Linked DNA regions of Homo sapiens: region 1 is linked to region 2. The links are contacts of gene promoters, found by promoter capture Hi-C in human tissues and cell types (Jung and others, 2019). All regions are on one chromosome and are shown on one strand. The core of a region is centred on a gene start or on the middle of the fragment in contact, and the rest is flanking DNA. Distances in the headings are between cores, read along the strand shown.

Evidence for each region. Contacts are between HindIII fragments. The study calls those that stand out against the background at their distance.
Region 1: a fragment that was not itself captured here is called in contact with the fragment with the promoter of NKX3-1 in region 2 in 8 of the 25 tissues and cell types used here (H1 embryonic stem cells, IMR-90 fibroblasts, aorta and 5 more).

The regions. Positions count from the first base shown.
Region 1 is chr8:23,538,741-23,545,475 of GRCh38, reverse strand. All of the region lies in intron 1 of SLC25A37 (solute carrier family 25 member 37), which reads right to left. Among named protein-coding and RNA genes, the nearest start is that of SLC25A37, 13 kb to the right of the region's middle. RefSeq lists an enhancer at 2,424-3,205. The HindIII fragment of the contact is 7,289 bases long and covers 1-6,581 here.
Region 2 is chr8:23,681,532-23,687,478 of GRCh38, reverse strand. It overlaps NKX3-1 (NK3 homeobox 1), which reads left to right and starts at 4,541. Exons shown (of 2, transcript NM_006167.4): 1 at 4,541-4,875; 2 at 5,840-5,947. The coding sequence starts at 4,590. All of the region lies in intron 3 of LOC107986930 (a long non-coding RNA gene), which reads right to left. RefSeq lists silencers at 4,360-4,869, 4,910-4,959. The HindIII fragment of the contact is 20,085 bases long and covers 1-5,947 here.

The sequences.
Region 1 (6,735 bases), core at 1,688-4,187, 140 kb after region 2:
GCTGTGAGATCCAAGAGCTTCTGTCTACACCCTGGACTATCATGGACTCCAGTGGGAAAGTCCCCAAGCTCTCATCTCAGGCCCTTTACCAAGCCCAGCTGACTGTGCCCCTGGCATTTGATAGCAGGCCATCTCTGAGAGAGGAAGGCTACAAGGAAAGAGAGAGGACAGGAAAGTGTCCAGCTCTCCAGTTACCTTTCAAAAGAGACAAGAAGTGACACACGAATCTGAGCCTCCAGAGCAGGCCCTGGTACTACAAGATCCCAGGTCCATCTCTGACCTTTGGAAGGCACAGTTGTCGCCTACACCATCCTCAAGTCTCTCTTTGCCCTACAAGTTGTGACCTGGACCAGGAAAGCTCACTCAGGCAAACCCTAAACCTGCACACGTCACATGAGCATGTTTTATTTTTAGCAACTTACCTGGCCACTGCTCCACCAGCCCCTACTGCCACCTATTATGAGCCAACGATGAGCAGAAATGCCTCTGATGTGACCGCTTAGCCTCCCTTCCTCCTGTTTCCACCCTCCTCGGGTCCTTAGTTCGACAGTGAAAGTTCCCACCTGGGAGGAGGCTGGGCTTCTCTGAAAGCCACCAGGCAGTCAAACAGGGAATTAAGATTTCAGAACAGAGAGGAGAAGAGCTGCCACCTGATGACCCCAAACCACAGACACTTTCTCAGCTCAGAGCAGAACCCCAGATTAGAGTGTCAGTGGCATGCAGGCACCCTGGGGATGGCCAGGCACCTTGGAAATAGGCTGTGATGTTCTCAGGGACACAGAGAATCATACAGTTTAGTTGTAACATCCACATCTCCTTCAGGTCTAGATAGAGATACTGAGATATTCCTTCCTCGGGGGGCCTTTCCCAACTCCTCCCCGTGAGGTGCAGGATCCCTGAAGACTGAGCTCATCACTCCTGAAAGGAATGATTCATTGGAGATCTGTCCTTCCTGCCACAGAGGGGCTCCCATGGGGAATGCCTGGGTTGTGTCAAGCCTCCGTCTCCTTAGTGCCCAGCACCCACAGTCATACCCCATAGGCCCCATTCCTTAATTACAGTCACGCATCGCAAATGACGGGGATATGTTCTGAGATATGCATTGTTAGGTGACTTCATCCTTCTGTGAACATCACAGAGTGTACTTACACAAATTGAGAGGGGATAGCTACCGCACACCTAGGCTGTACGCTATAGTGTGTTGCTCCTAGGCTACAAACCTGTACAGCATGCTACTGTACTGAATACTGCAGGCAACTGGAATACCATGGTATTTGTTATCTAAATGAATCTAAATATACCAAAAGTACAGTGAAGGCTGGGCGCGGTGACTCACAACTGTAATCCCAGCACTTTGGGAGGCTAGGGCAGGTGGATCACTTGAGGTTGGGAGTTCGAGACCAGCCTGGCCAACATGGTGAAACCCCATCGCTACTAAAAATACAAAATTAGCCGGGCGTGGTGGCACACACCTGTAATCCCATCTACTCGGGAGGCTGAGGCAGGAGAATTGCTTGAACCCGGTAGGCAGAGGTTGCGGTGAGCCGAGATTCTGCCACTGCATTCCAGCCTGGGCAACAAAAGTGAAACTCCGTCTCAATAACAAAAAAAAAGTACAGTGAAAATACCACATCGTTTTTTGCTGGGCGCAGTGGCTCACGCCTGTAATCCCAGCATCTTGGGAGGCCGAGGCAAGCAGATCAAAACAAGGTCAGGAGATCGAGACCATACTGGCTAACACAGCGAAACCCCATCTCTACTAAAAATACAAAATTTAGCTGGGCGTGGTGGCAGGCGCCTGTAGTCCCAGCAACTCGGGAAGCTGGGGAAGGAGAATGGCATGAAGCCAGGAGATGGGATTACAGGCATGAGCCATCACAACCAGCCAAAAGATTTTTTTTAATGGTACACCTGTGTAGGGCATTTACCATGAATGGAGCCTGCAGAACTGGAAGTTGCTCTGGGTGAGTTTAAGTGAGTGGTGGTGAGTAAATGTGAAGGCCTGGGACATTCCTGTGCACTACCGTAGACTTTAAAAACACTGTACACTTAGGCTACACTAAATTTATTTTTTAAACTTTTGCTTTCTTCCATAATAAATTAAATTTCAAGGTTGGGCGTGGTGACTCATACCTGTAATCCTAGCACTTTGGGAGGTCGAGGCAGGAGGACTGCTTGAGGCCAAGAGCTTGAGACCACCTGGCCAACATTGCGAAACTCCTTCACTACACCAATTTAAAAATTAGCTGTGTGGTGGTGCGCACCTGTAATCCCAGCTACTCAGGAGGCTGAGGAGGGAGGATTCCTTGTACCCAGGAGTTCGAGGCTGCAGTAAACTATGATCTCAACACTGCACTCCAGCCTAGGCGACAAGGCAAGACCCTGTCTCTAAAAAAAAAAATAAATAAAATTAATTAGTTACATTTAGCTTACTGTAATGTTTTTGTTTTATAAATTTCAATTTTTTGACTTTTTGACTCTTGTAATAACACTTGGCTTAAAACACAAAACACATTGTACAGCTCTACAAAAAATATTTTTTCTCTATATCCTTATTCTATAAGCTTTTCCTTTTAACATTTTTTATTTTTTTACTTTTTAAACTTTTTTCTTAAACATACACATTAGCCTAGGCTTACAGAGGGTCAGGATCATCAATATCACTGTCTTCCACCTCCACATCTTGTCCCAATGCAGCTGGCACCTCCTGTGATCGCAATGCCTTCTTCTGGAATCCCTCCTGAAGGACCTGCCTGAGGCTCTTTTACAATTAACTTAAAAAAAAAAAAAAAAAAAAGGCCAGGGGCGGTGGCTCACACCTGTAATCCCAACACTCTGGGAGGCTGAGGAGGGCGGGTCACCTGAGGTCAGGAGTTGGTGACCAGCCTGGCCAACATGGTGAAACCCTGTCTCTACCAAAAATACAAAATTAGCCGTGCGTGGCGGTGCATGCCTGTAATCTCAGCTACTCTGGGAAGCTGAGGCAGGAGAATCGCTTGAACCCAGGAGGTGGAGGTTGCAGTAAGCCGAGATCGCGCCACTTCGCTCCAGCCTACAGGACAAGAGTGAAACTCCATCTCAAAAAAAAAAAAAAAAAAGTAGGAGTACACTCTAAAGTAATGACAAAAAGTATAGCATAGTAAATACATAAACCAGTAGCAGAGTCTTTCATTATTATTTGCAAGCATTACCTACTAATTGTGTGTGCTATACTTTTACATGACTGGCAGCATAGTAGGTTTACACCAGCATCATCCCAAACACGGGCGAAATGCAATGCGTTGTGATGCCCCTAGGTAATAGGAATTTTTCAGCTCCACTATAATCTATGGGATCACTGTCTCATCACATATGGAGTCCATAGTTGACCGAAACATCGTTATGTGGTGCTGACTGTAATTCAGTCATTCAATGAAGGGCAGGGGATGAAGCTACATTTTCACAAATACCATGTGAATCTTCCTTGGGAGCCACATTACTGTGAATCAGGCTAACGCAAGCCAACGTTTAGCAAACGAACCACAGAGGCGGGTGACTAAGGAAAGCAGCTTTCTTGATTCTTCAGTTAAAGACACACCCTGGGTTTACCCCTTCCACCCTCATATGTATATACACGCACTGGCAGCATCTTCTTGCCTTTGAAAAGATGTCCCCACCTCTGGTCTGACTCCCTGGATCTGATCATCAGCCGGCCACTCAGCAACTTTAATCCAGGCTCCCAACAGCCCTAGGACACCCGTGATCCACAGGAGGGCAGAGAAAGTGGGGAGGGGAGCACTGCGTATCAAGGACGTGCCGTGAGTCAGAGGCACTGCCCGCGGGTCCCGCTGCCCGGCAGGTCTGGCTGGCCAGCTTCCTGCAGGCTGCAAACCTCTCTCTCCATGTTCTGCTTCTAAAGCCAGGCCTTAGGCAATGCAAGGCGCCCGCAAAACCCTCAAGATGGGCACCGTGGGGACCCTGAGACAAAGGCACTTGTGTGCGTTACCTCCTTCTCCTCTTAAGCAAGTGAGGAAAACAGTGACGGGAAAGGCCAAACTGGGGAAGAGCCCAGGCGTCTGCAAACACACACAGTCATTCTTCCGGGATCATTAGTCACCTTCCTGCTCCTGGGGGACCCCTCCTCACAGCGTCCCCAGACTCATCTGCCTGGTGCTCAAAGGGACAGACTTTCTTGGAAAATAAGAGTAAGGATATAAAATCCCACAGACGTCCTCAAACTAACAGCCCTGGGTACACCTCCCTGAAGGTGGGCTCATCCGGTCCTACCCTGCTGGTTTCTGCTACACGCAGCCACTACTATCCCCTGTCTACATTACCACGAAATGAGCATGCTGTGAGCAGCACTGGCTCTTCCTCATTAGCCAGCCAAATGGGCGGCAGCAGACAGCCACCCTGTCTTGGCTCAACAGATGGGAGACACTGTAAGGAGAGAGGTTAAGTGCCCAAGGCCAGGCAGCTGCACTGAGTCCTAGTGCTGGAATGAGAGCCTGGATTTTCCATTCCAATGAGCTAACCTTACCCCTCCCACAGGATCCCAGTGTGATAATAAATACCATGACCTAGCACCTGCACAGAGAGCTTTATACTTTTAAAGCGGTGTTCCCTGCAAGCCTGCCTGTATTTTCTCACTACATGCGTAAGCGGACCTGCCAGGGGAGGCAGGATGGGCACCGTTACCCCTCCTTATTTCAGATAAGAAAACTGCAGCCTTAGTGGACCACGGAACTATGATGTAGTGCTCTTCCCAGTAAGTGACTTATATACATATACTATGATCTGGAAAGGAATCTTCACGACTAGTCCGAATTCAAAACACTATATTGAGTGCAACTTCGACTCACTGCTGAAATGAGAAGGTGTCACAGCAACTGCAATTTGTTTCAGAGAGAGAAGCCAGACGCAGCCAAAAATATCCTGTGGCAATAACCATATGTCATCATCCTTCTTCCTTGCTTGCTGGAGTACTTGCCCAAAGAACTCCTAACTATACGTTAGAGCCCTGCATTCTGTGCCACACTTTCTGGGTGCCATGATTTCCTGGAGTTACTCCCTCGACTCAACTCTGGTTCCTCCATCCCAACAATGCAGCTGGGCCCCATCATCAATCTCAGCCCTTTCTCATATTCTAGAATCCAGCTCAAGGGCTCTGCTGCCATTAACATCTGAGTCTGCATCCAACATCCTACTGGCTTGCTCCAGCCTAATTCCCTTCCTCTCTTCTCTCGCTTTCAGCTCTGGAGCAGAAAAAGGCCCGAGTTCTAGGGCATGTAATTTTTCTGAAGTTCAGTTTTCTCAAATATGAAATGAGAAACAACACCTGCCTTTTCTCACCTTCAAAGGAGAGCTAAGAGGATCAAATGACCAAATAAAAGCTAACAATACAAAAATAATATAAAATTAACAATTGCACCAGCAATATATAAACATACCCAGGCATTGAAGTAATACTTTTAGAAATAACAAGAGGAGCTGATATTAATGGGGCATTTGCCATGTGCCTTAACATTCTAGGTGTATCATCTCAATTAATTCTCACAGCAACACTGAAATGGGTAAAGTTATTAGCCCCATTTTATAGATGAGAAAAATAAGGCAAAGAGAGGTTTCAGGAACTTGACCAGGTGCCACTCCAGGCAGTCTGGCTGCAGAGGTTGTGCTGTTAACCTAAACAGCTCTAATAATCAAGCACATTGCCTCTGATACAATCTGTCATTAGCTTTGCATGTTAAGGTTTGCAAGAGCCATTCACAAATCTATCTCACCTAAGCTTCCCAACAGCCCTGTCAAAAAGGTAAAGTAGATGACACTAGTCTAGATTCACAAGGAGAAAACTAGCCCAGAGAAATGATTAGCCCAAGGTTTCCAAGCTGGTTAATGGCAGGACCAGGACTTAAATTCACGGGGCCCACACCCCGCCCCAGTTTGGTGACCTTTCTAGGGCCTCAACACCAGCATAAGTCTGACACACAAACACTCCTCCGGGTCCCCCACCCACAGCAGTGTCTCAAATGCACCCTTTCTGGTCATGCCAGGGAATAAACACTGTTGGCTAAATATCAGCCAGGGTCTCTCTTTCACCAGTGACAGCCATCACAGACCACGTGGCCAGCCAGAACTCAAGGTCCCAGAGCCTTCCAAGTGGCTCTCTGGATGGATCTAATGGATCCAGAGGCTCGGTGGACCCGGAAGAAGTTCCCTCAGTGACACAAGGCTGCAGTCCCTCAACTTGACCCACACGGCCAGACGTTTCCTAGACCTGTTATGCAACCCTTGCTTCAAGCAAGCTGCTGCTGGGATTTCTCCCTATTTCAACATGTTTTGTTTTCTCTTCAGAGAGAAAGCATGAATGTGAAACCATAACACCTCTTAGTACCCGACAACGGCCCTTCCTGACTGTCTGGGGTTACGAGGAGGGTGGGGGATGTTTTCAAGAGCACCTTCTGTGAGCCAACTTGAGCCTCCAGAATGACTAACCACCGTGGGAGGGAGGGTGAGGATGGTGGGGAGGGAACACAACTGAGGACCACTGTCTCTCGCAGGAGAAAGAACAAATTCCAGAGTGCCCAGCAAAGAAACTAGAATGACGCTACCCTGTAGGCTCTAGACCTGCAAGACGGCAGCAGCTTGAGCAGTTCAGAGTCCATACACGCCAGACCTTGTTCTTCCAGCCCATCTGAAAGTCCGTCAAGACAGGCGACTCTTGTCTTGAAAGGGAGCTGGTTCTGTCGCCTTAGC
Region 2 (5,947 bases), core at 3,292-5,791:
CTGCTGCTCTTTTACTAGTGCCCCTATATTAGTTTCTTAGTGCTGCTGTGGCAAATTACCATAAAGTTAGTGGCTTAAAACAATGCACATTTATTATGCTATGGTTCTGGAGATCAGAAGCCCACACTGGCTTATTGGGCTAATATCAAGGTGTCATCAGGGTTGTGTTCCTTCTGGTGGCTCTAGGAGAGAATCCACTTCTTTTCTTTCCCTGCTGCCTGCATCAGTTGGCTCCTGGCCTCCTTGCACCCTCAAAGCCAGCAAGGGCCAGTTGAGTCTTTCCCACAGTTGACTCTTTCTAGCCTTGCTTCAGTTGTCATATCTTGTCTGACTCTGATTCTCTGGCCTCATACTTGTACTGATAAAGACCCCTGTGACACAACAGGCCCATTTGGATAATCCAGAATAACCTTCCCATCTCAGGATCAGCGGACCAGCAAACCTAATTCCATCTGCAGCATTAACTTTCGCTGTCTATTTACATAGCATATTCACAGAATCTGGGGACTAGGGGTTGGTCATCGCTGGAAGGGGGCATTGTTCTGGGCTGCAGCCCCTGAGTGTCTCCAGATTGCCTTGCACATTTTCACCCGGTTTAAACTGCATAAACACAGCAAGGGGAGGAGGACGAGCCTTCCACTGTGATTTGCCTGGGGGTCCTTTGGCCCCTTATGGATAATTCCGCTAGCCAGTGAGATGTGTCATAACAACTGGAGCTGGACATTGAGCCAGCAAGCACTTATGGAGCGCCTTCTGTATGCCGAGAACTAAGCCAGACTTTAGAGATGGTACAAATATGAGGAGGATACAGTCCCTTCTCAGGGAGCTCATAGTCTCATAAAGAAGATGAGCCATCCACACCCCCAAATACAAAGCACAAGGGGAGAAAAGATGCAGTGAGGTGAGGCCGAGGACCACGAGCTGTGGCCCCACTCACAGGCCTGAGGAGGACGCGGTGGAGGAGGGCAGTCCAGGCTCAGCTCCAACTTGATATTTTTCATTTTTTAAAATTATCAATGAGTACAAGGAAATACACCCTGTTCCACTATCCTCCTGTCCCTCTCCCAACCTACTGTCTCCATCTCACTGAGCAGAGGTAACTACTCTATGGAAAAAAAGAATACATATGTATAAATCTTGTTCCTGATATATTCTGTATGTTAAAGTGTTCAAATGAAAAACATTATATAGGTAACTTATAGTGCTGTTTTATACAATGGGTTTCATCTATAACATGCTTTGCAGCTTGAACCAGTCTCTGACCAAATTGAAGATATGTTCCCAAGTCAATACATTGTGTATTTGTGCACTTCTAGGGCACATTGCCAAACACAGAATAGCTGTGTCAAAGGATATGCTCAGTTTTAATTTTGACAAATATTCCCAAGTTGTCATCCAAAAACAGTCATGCATCCTTAGGGACAAGAATATGTTCTGAGAGATGCAATGTTAGGCAATTTCATTGCTGTGCAAACATCATAGAGCTACTTACACAAACTTAGATGGATGTAGTCTACTACACACCTAGGCTACATGGTATGCCCTATTGCTCCTAGGCTACAGACATGTACAGCATGTTACTGTACTGAATACTGTAAGCAAAGGTAATACAATGGTAAGAATTTGTGCATGTAAACATATCTAAACATAAAAAGGTACAGTAAAAATACAGTATCATAACCTTATGGAACCACCGTCATATATGCTGTCTGTCACTGATCAAACGTCACGATGCAGTGCATGGCTGTATGAGAGCAGCTGTTCCTCCACACTCTCACTTACACTGGACATTATCCATTTTTTTTAACCTTTGTCAATCTGAAAGGTGGAAAAGGCTCGTCTCAATGTGATTTTGATTTGCATTCCTTCACTGATGAAGTGTAGTTAAAATATTTTTTTCACGTGCTCGTTTGTGTTTTACATCTTTGAGCTGTCTGGAATTTATTTTGTCATAAGAATAGGACTTTATCTTTTCCAAATGGCAGCACTTGTTATTAAATAATTCATACCCAACTCTCAATTTTAGAAATAAAAGGAGGCCATCTCAATCTAAACCTCACACTATATACAAAAATTAATTCTGAAGGAATCATGGATTGAAGAGTAAAGCATAAAACTTTTAGAAGATAACATAGGAGCAAATCTTCAGTATTAGGACTAAACAAAGAGTTCTTAGGCAGGACATCAAAATCACATTCTGTAAAATTCAAAAATTCATAAATTGATCTTCAATGAAATTAAAATCTTTTGTTCTGTTGAAGATCCTGTTAGAGGGATGGAAACACAAGCTACAGACTGGGAGATAATATTTGCAAATAACCTACCAAACAAAGACTTACAAACAGCAATATATAAAGAACTATCATAACTCAATGGTTAAAAAATAAAAGAAAGAAAAATTCAATTATAATATGAGCAAAAGGCTTGAACAGATATTTCACCAAAGAGGAAATATGGATGGCAAACAAGCACATGACAAGGTATTCAACATCTCTAGGCATTTGTGAAATGCAAATTAAAAATTTAAACCACAATAAGGCCCAGCACAGTGGCTCACACCTGTAGTCTCAGCACTTTGGGTGGTGGAGGCGGAAGGATTGTTTGAGCCCAGGGCTTTGAGACCAGCCTGGGCAACAGGGTGAAACCTTATCTTTACAAAAACTACAAAAATTAACTGGGCAGGGTGGCACACACCTGTAGTCCCAGCTATTCAGGAGGCTGAGGTGGGAGAATCTCCTGAGCCCAGGAGGTTGAAGTTGCAGTGAGCCATGATCTCTCCACTGCACTCCAGCCTGGGCAACAGAGCAAGACCCTATCTCTAAATAAATAAATAAATGACGTCTGTAGTCTAGTTAACTGTAATGTCCCAACGTAAATTTCCTGTTTTCTACATTGTCCTACAGTTGTATAGATGTCTTTGGAGGACACTGGAGGTATTATTTTTGCAACTTCCTGTGAATCTACAATGATTCAAAAGAAAACATTAAAGAATGTTCTAATATAAAGAGACTTTGAAAAGATGAGAGAAGAAAACCAGCTTTGCCAAAGTCTTTCCCGTTGCACAGGTAGTTTTCTTTGGCGGTCGCTTTATCAGCAATAACCTATTAACTTTCCTTCCTCCAGAGACACATGACATACCATCCTTTTGAAAAGTTGCCAGTTGAATAGAAGCCGTCTTAGACCAGGACAGACAAAAAAGTTGCATTAAAAAAATGGTTCTAAAAAACATCAGCCTACCCTTTTTCCAGATTACCAACTGTTACCATTTAACCCATCGGCTTTATGGCGTGGGATCTATCAATCTGCATCCTTGTTTCAGAACCATTTGATGTAAGTTTCATAAATCTTGTGCCTTTGCTCCTACTTACTTCAGTGTTTATTTCCTAAAAATATTCTCTTGTACACTGACAGTACAATGTGCAATTTCAGTAAATTTAACATTAATTCAATACTTCCATCATCGACCTGACACTGAGACTCATGCCTGTAGTCCTGGCACTTTGAGAGGCCAAGGCAGGAGGATCACTTGAATCCAGGAAATCGAGGCTGCAGTGAGTTATGATGGCATCACTGCACTCCAGCCTGGGCGGCAGAGGGAGACCCTGTCCGTAAAAAAAAGAAGAGAAAAGACAAGGAAAGAAAATACTTCCATCATCTCTGTTCCACTTTCGTCTGTTGTCACGGTACCGTCCAGTCCAGTCACAGTACCGGTTGGACCAATCTGGCTAACCCATTGTTTAGCCAATGGGTTACATGTTAACAGTTGGTAATCTGCAAAAAGAGTATGCTGATGTTCTTTTGAACTACTTTTTTAAATGCAGTTTTTGCATTTGTCCTGGCCTAAAACGCCTTCCATCCGTCTGGAAACTTTTCAAAAGGATGGTATGTCATGTGTCTGGGGAGGAAGGAAAGTTAACAGGTTATTGCGGATAAAGGAACCACCAAAGAAAACCACTTCTGCAACGGGAAAAGGCTTTGGCAAAGGTGTTTTCCTTCTTTCAGCCTGGGGTCTGGCTGCACCTACTTGTCATGCCTCTTTGAGGTCGTAGATATTGCAGATCTGAGTTTGCACCATCTCTCCCAGAGAGAGAGAGCACCCAGAACTCTCACGGTACCGCGCGGCTGCAGTGACTGCGTGCTCATCCCCTGTAATTGGCTCTGACGGTCCTGAAGAGCTAACTGGACTGTTTGTCTTGATCGTCCCATCCCCAGGAGCTTCTCTCTGTTGCGGGTGGGTTGGGGCAGAGGAGCCCCGCTTTGGGGTGCGCTCCTGGCCTGGGAAAACGGCTCAGGGCGGAGGGAGGAGAGCTGGAGAAGGAGAGGAAATTGGGGAAGGAGAGGGAATTGGGGAAGGAGAGGGAACTGGGGAAGGAATCCCCTAGGGAGGAGCGGAGCGGGGCAGTGCTCAGGGCTCGCAGATCGGCGGGGTCACCTGGGGCTCAGGGCGGCCAATCCGCGGCGCGGCCCGTCCCGCGGCCAATGGGAGGGCGGCGCGGCCCGCTCCCCTGGGCTATAAGCGAGCCGGGAGGCGGAAAGTGAAAGCGGTGCGGGCCGGGCGGGTGCATTCAGGCCAAGGCGGGGCCGCCGGGATGCTCAGGGTTCCGGAGCCGCGGCCCGGGGAGGCGAAAGCGGAGGGGGCCGCGCCGCCGACCCCGTCCAAGCCGCTCACGTCCTTCCTCATCCAGGACATCCTGCGGGACGGCGCGCAGCGGCAAGGCGGCCGCACGAGCAGCCAGAGACAGCGCGACCCGGAGCCGGAGCCAGAGCCAGAGCCAGAGGGAGGACGCAGCCGCGCCGGGGCGCAGAACGACCAGCTGAGCACCGGGCCCCGCGCCGCGCCGGAGGAGGCCGAGACGCTGGCAGAGACCGAGCCAGGTAAGCGGCGAGGCCGGGGAAGGGGGGCAGCCCAAGGCGGACCCCCAGAGCTCGGGGTGCAGGGACGCGGGGCTCCGCGGCGACAGGCAGAGGGACCTTCCCGCCTCCGCAGCCACGCGCGCGCCCCCGGAATGAACCCTGAGCCCCAGCGTCAGGGCGGCGCAGGATTCTGACACCGCAGGACTCGCCCGGCTCCGTGCCCTCCGCTCCCTGGGGCTCAGAAGCCGGCGCGACTGCAGCGCCACCGCCCTCCACCGTCCCAGGAGCGGATCCCGCCCCGCGCCACCCGCGATCGGCGCCAGCCCCCCGGTAGTTATGAGAACTAATAATAACTTATTAACAGTGACAAAGCAGGGGTTGACCAGCAAAGCCTCCGTGTGCTTCCCAATCCCGTGGGCAGTAAAGCGGTATATTCGGGGTTCCCTCCGGTGTCCAGGAGAGAGAGTCCACTTATTTTCTTTCCTGTCACTTCTGATGAGGCGACCGAACGCCTCGTTTAGCGAAGAGGGAATTAAAGCCCAGAATGAGCCTGCCTCTGCGTCTCCAGTGGCACAAGCCCTCTCTTGCCCACCTGGATCCTAACACCGGATGTCTTTTGGTCTGGCCTTCCCGGGTATCTTGTTCCACGGCATTTTCCCTGCCTCCCTCTCCCGCCTCTCCTCAGCACACAGATCCAGAATCCCCATATAATTCTACTAGACAGTAGGGAGAAAGTTCAACCACGAAACGTCTCTAACTTTGGGTTCTTGATGATTCTTAGCAAATGAATGCGTAATAAACATATTTACTCACTCTTCACTCCGGAGAGCTCCTTAGTCATGTGAAAAAAGTGAAATGTATCCACGATGACAGTGGGCTGTTTGTTCACTCACTAAAGAGATAAGGGTGGATTGAATTCTGTTCTCTTCCCTGCTAACATGTAACTTTTGTCTTCCCATCCCTCCTTCCCCACTCTCCTTTCCAGAAAGGCACTTGGGGTCTTATCTGTTGGACTCTGAAAACACTTCAGGCGCCCTTCCAAGGCTTCCCCAAACCCCTAAGCAGCCGCAGAAGCGCTCCCGAGCTGCCTTCT